Regions from separate parts of the Homo sapiens genome. Here region 1 is linked to region 2. The links are contacts of gene promoters, found by promoter capture Hi-C in blood cells and fetal thymus (Javierre and others, 2016). All regions are on one chromosome and are shown on one strand. The core of a region is centred on a gene start or on the middle of the fragment in contact, and the rest is flanking DNA. Distances in the headings are between cores, read along the strand shown.

Region 1 (2,700 bases), core at 145-2,644, 510 kb before region 2:
CTTCTATCAATTTACATAGTTACTTGGGCTGGGTCCACAGAGGGCAGGGTAACCTGTCCTTAGTGTTCTCACAGCTCCCTCTGGTCAAGGAAAGCAGTCTTTCTCTCTGCCAGCAGCAAAGAGGGAGAAAAGCTACCTTGGCCTGGTCATCCTTTTTGTCAAAGCAGAGGCCTGAGCAAAGTAAGAGCTCAAGCAACCGAAACCAGCTGCCTGGCGAGGGCTCAGCATAAACTGAGCAGAATAACCACAAGGGGAAGGGTGTCTAGACAGCCTCGGTCTATGGAAGAAGCCACCCTCCCCTGCAGTGTCAACTCTGGAAAAGCAGGCTCCAAAACGCGGCTCCAGCAAAAGAGCAGATGAGAGACCATGTCAACAGCTGGGAAGGGCACCGCGGGCTCCCTCGCCAAACGCAACACAGAGGAGAGCGCCTGAGCCTGGCCCACCTGCCAAGGACAGCCACCAGCAATCCAGCAGGGACGAGGCGCCCGAGGACCTCATGTGGGGACAGTTCACATGCACTGCTTTAACTACAAAGCCACTTCAGTGACAATTCTTGCATATGGGACTTTTCCAAAATTCAGAGAGACCAAAAAGACCGCCAATTCTAAATGTGGCAGGTAAACAGCCTGTCATCTTTTCAACTTCGGTTCTATTTGTTTCTTCTTTCTTTCCATTCTTCTAAGTTTCTCAACACTTAAGAGACTTTGGTGGAGGGTGGTGAGGGGTATAGGAAGCTACTAAACAAGCAAGGTATATTCAGGAAATACACAGATGAAGCCTGGGAGGTCTGAATTATTCTATCTGGCAGAGGTATTTCCACAGGACATACAGGACTCTACAGAATGAATGCCACTATCTCTATCTACACTGGTATCTGTCACGAGCATTTAATGTGTCACAGGCTTCACACTAGATTCTGGGAATACAATGGTGGATTGGAAACAAAGCCAGTCACTGCATTCAGGGAGCTTACAGACTAATGGGGTAGTCAGAAACGAATCAAACATTCACACAAAACTTCTATACATAGCACTGCAGAATCCTCACGATGGGAATCTAACTTAAAGGGAACGTCAGCCATGGTTTCTATGGGGAGAAACGTTTAAGACAGATGAACAGAAATCTGCAAGGCGAAGAGGGAAGACCCATTCTCCAGACAGAGGAAATGGTGGGTGAGGGACATGGGACATGGTGGTATTTAAAAAGTCTTTTTAAAAAGCCCCACGTGGTGGCTGGGACAGGTGGGGCCAGGTAAGAAGCGCGATGAGGGGCAGGTGGACAGTAACAGCTTTAAACAATGGGATTCATGTGCTCCAATTTGCAACTCTGCAAAGACCCCTACAGCTGGGGGCAAGGGGTTGCAAACAGATGTGAGTAAAAAGCTCTCTCCTCCCTCTAAAGTCTGCATAACAAAGTGAAATAGTAATGACAAAAAAAATTTAAGATAAAATTTATACTACAGGCTAGGCATGGTGGCTCACACCTGTAATCCCAGCATTTTGGGAGGCCGAGGCCAGCGATTGCTTGAGCCCAGGTGTTCGAGACCAGCCTAGGCAACATGATGAAACCCTGTCTCTACCCCCAAAAAATACAAAAATTAGCCAGGCATGGTGGTGCACACCTGTAGCCTCAGCTGCTCAGGAGGCTGAGGTGGGAAAATTGCTTGAACCTGTGAGGCAAAGGTTGCAGTGAGTCAAGATCACACCACTGTACTCCAACCTGGGTGACAGATTAAGACCCTCTCAAAAAAAAAAAAAAAAGGAAAAATTATCATACAAAATTATTGATAAATTCCACCTTTCTCCTTCCATCTTGCTGCTACATTCCTTTTCTTTTGAATGAAGGGTGGGGGCAGTGGGTCACTGGCGGCCACAGCACTCTCCCAGGACTACGTACATCTTACAGAGCCACAAATCCAAGGCATGCCAAAGATTTCAGGCGGTGCATAAACTCCATCAGCAGGCTAAACTGTTTATATGTTCTTGAGTTAAAAATACACCACTCGGGTCAGCGTTAACACCAGGGCCTTATCACCAAGGCTGTCTGTGAGCTGGTTACACAAGGCTGGACCATGACTCGCCCATCTTTTAGATGTGTCTCAGTCTGCAAATTATCTAACGATTCATCAGTGAGATGATCATAAAGCCAACAAATATACACGCATTTGAGAAAAACACTTTCCAAACCCAAGGATACTTTACTGTTTATAAATAGTTTACTTTTTTTGATCCCCAAGCATATAATATTCGCAGTTGCTCCAGAAACCAAAGGAACATGGAACAGGAACACAAACCACAACCTAACAGAAACAATAAACAACAGATGGCAAAACATATGTGCATGTTACCACCCCCTTTACCAAACAGGCAAACCAAAAATGGATCTGACACACACGCCTACCAACAAAGAAACACGCTCTTCAAGATCACATTCAAGACACCATGTATAGAGCACCAGCTGTACAGCCAGAACTACACTAGGTGCTTCAAGCCACCAAAGACCAATCGGCCTCCAGGAATTCAGAGACGTCAAAGGGAGGCCAGAAAGAAGGCAGTGCTAGTCTTACCGTATTTTCTTCTAAACATGTACACGCAGGTCTGAATTCTAACTGGCAAGTGCTAGACTCTAAACAAGTCATTCAACTACTCTGGGCCTCATGTATACAACAGAGACAATATTTTTCATAGAGTTAAGATGGTG
Region 2 (2,907 bases), core at 342-2,841:
AGTGCTACCATTTTAATAAATTAGAAAGCAACATCATAAAAACGAAAAAATAAAGTTATGAGTAACCAAAATTAAGTCAATTTCATCTATCCAGAAACGTGCATACAGGACATTCACAAAGAAGAAATTATAAGTGCATATGTATATGCAGAAACCCCAGTCATGAGGAAACACCACTTCCTGTTAACTTGCATGGGATTATAGTATTTTAAGTTCTAAATTTCTCAGCAGACCTAGAAGACAGAACTGAATTGTTTTTCATAATTATTTCTCTTTCTCAATCACAATTTAAATTCCAAGATCCTTTCTTTATCAAGAAGTTCAACGGTTTGATCTTTTCAGTGCTAGAAAAGTTATGCACACGGGCTAACTATATGTCTACTAGAAATTCTTCCCATTCGCTGATACTTCCTTACATTTTAACATCTAGAAATAGCATTCCCAATGTTAGCTCATTTGCACCTTACATTTATTTTTAAAATATGAAACATCTATAATGTGCCAGGCACCCCGTTAGATGTTAGAAACACAAGATGAGTAAATAAAAATTCGTCAACAGTAAAATTTTGATTTTCTTTCCAAAAGGTTGCAGCCTATGAAATCCATGGAGTACGGATTACTATTACTTCACGTTACAGATGAAGGATCTAAGCGCTCAGGGGTTGAAAGGTCTTATGTCAGTTCTCACATATAGTGACTAAAGAGCCAGGGCTTCAGTAATCATCCCTGGCTCCGGGCTCAGGGCATTCCGGTATTTTTTCAAAGGAAATTCCGGAATACTTAGTATTGTATCCCCTCCATTTCCCAAGAGCAAAAAGTAAAGCATCTTGGATCCCCTTGTAATGTTCACGTGAGGAACAGGTGTTCTCTGGGTGTGCTAGAAAAGCAAGGCACCAGTGGGAGTTGAAGATCCTAAGCAGCCGCTGTAACCAGACCAAGTTAATCTGTGGAAACCAGAGCACCCGGCCAAGGCGATGCTATTTCAATTGGGTGTCATAGGTGACTCATCAGAGACGCCTTGCTTTTGGGCCTTGTGATATTTTTCTTCAGGGTGGGACGTCAGATTTCCTTTGCATTTTTGGACAACAGCCCTCCTGTCCATTTCCACATTTTTCTGGTTTTACAGCTCTCACGCAGAGCTTGATTTCATACCGGAAGCTAGTCACTGGCAGGAAGTTTACGGAAGAAGAAAAAGGTAAAAAAATGTGCCGGGGGCCAGGAGAGAGGCCTAAAATGGGGAAATTCGCACTTGAAGAGCTTTCCCTACCCCAGCCCCTCAGAATGACAGTTCTCCTCCGCCAGAAGACTACCTCTCCCGGCAGGCACTGCGCGCTCGACGGCCACAGGCTGGCCAGCTCCCTGCTCTCCACCTCCATCCGAATCAGCCAATAGGAATTCCCGGCTTGGGCCTCCGCCCGACCCGGACCACGCGGGAGCCGGGGCAATCAAACTACATTTCCCGACACGCATGTGCTCGCGTCGTGGCCAATCAGCGCCAGGAATTCGGAGGCTAGGGGTGGAGCCAGATGCACAGGACACCCCATTGGCCAGGGGAAGCTTAGAAGAGCCGGAACCCGGGAGCTAGAGAAGCGAAATGACATTTCCTTTTTAAATAGCTGGAGTCGGGGCCCCATCGAGAAATGGCCGCGTCGGCAGGTGGGTCGTGTGGTGGCCAGGGCGGCGTGGAGGGAGGTGAGGGGGAAGGTGGGCCGGGGCCGGCCACAGGCAGTGGGATGAGGACGTAGCGGTGCGGAGCTAGAGGGAAGGATGAAGCGGTGGAGGGGAATGAGAAGAGGGAGGATGAATGGTGCGGAGGGCGGTGGGCGGTCCGGCGGGACCGGGATGGGGAGGCTGGGTACCCGCCGGCGCTGCGCCCCAGGAGGCAGCGGGAGGCGGCTTGAGGGGGCACCGGCGGCCGCCGTTGTTCGAGCTTCCCTCGTGAGGCTCTGCCCTCGGCTCTCGGCGGAGTCCGCGCAGACGCCTCTCCTGGGCTGCGAGCGCGTTTCCTCCGCGAGCACGGGTGCCGGGCTCGCCGGGCTCCGCAGGAGCAGGCTGGCCTTTGAACTTGTTCCGCCGATCGCGCTCCGCCCTCTGTCTCCCAGATCCTTAACTCGCGGTCCCACGAGGTCGTGCGTATATCCACAGACATTTGTATATATCTTGTAGGGGGAAAAAGCCTAGCAAGCAGACACACAAACAGAAAAATCCCGCGATGCCGTAACTGGCTCGGCACTTCTTGTAGTTGTACGATTTTTCTCCTCCTAGATTTAAGTAAGTCTTCCCCAACACCGAATGGGATTCCATCTTCAGACCCAGCCAGCGATGCCATGGACCCCTTCCATGCTTGCAGTATTCTTAAGCAACTCAAAACAATGTACGATGAAGGACAGTTGACAGACATTGTAGTGGAAGTGGATCACGGGAAAACATTTTCCTGTCATAGAAACGTTCTTGCTGCAATCAGCCCTTACTTCAGGTATGATGATGGTAGGAACTTCTGTTGGTATCTGCACCAAGCTCCCTTTCCCCCTCAGTATTGTCCACTTGATGTTTATATTGAGATGCGATAATGAAATGAAACCAATGACTTTGTTTCTTGAGACTAGAAAACAAGTCCTCTCTTAACTAAGACCTTCTTTTGACTTGAGGGATTCTTCTAGATTTCGGGTGATTGCTTTTTAAGTTAGTGGGCCTGTGTGTGTGTGTTTGAGGTAAATGACCAGAAAATCTAGACTTGTGCTGGTCAGTATGGAAGCCAGTAGCCATGTGTGGCTGTTTAAACTTAAATTATAAGTTAAATAAAATAAAACATTTAGTTCCCCAGGTACACTAAATACTTTTTGAGTGCTTGCTGGTCACCTGCAGCTAGTGGCTGCCATATTGGGCAGCACAGAAATACAGCATTTT

Evidence for each region. Contacts are between HindIII fragments. The CHiCAGO score rates a contact against its expected background, and 5 or more counts as called.
Region 1: a fragment that was not itself captured here is called in contact with the fragment with the promoter of KBTBD8 in region 2 in 1 of 17 cell types (fetal thymus); the score reaches 8.0 in fetal thymus.

The regions. Positions count from the first base shown.
Region 1 is chr3:66,483,412-66,486,111 of GRCh38, forward strand. The region is part of intron 1 of LRIG1 (leucine rich repeats and immunoglobulin like domains 1); the gene reads right to left. Among named protein-coding and RNA genes, the nearest start is that of LRIG1, 16 kb to the right of the region's middle. The HindIII fragment of the contact is 2,792 bases long and covers 1-2,700 here.
Region 2 is chr3:66,996,716-66,999,622 of GRCh38, forward strand. It overlaps KBTBD8 (kelch repeat and BTB domain containing 8), which reads left to right and starts at 1,592. Exons shown (of 4, transcript NM_032505.3): 1 at 1,592-1,656; 2 at 2,266-2,476. The coding sequence starts at 1,641. RefSeq lists an enhancer at 1,250-1,349 and a silencer at 1,690-2,009. The HindIII fragment of the contact is 2,180 bases long and covers 1,556-2,907 here.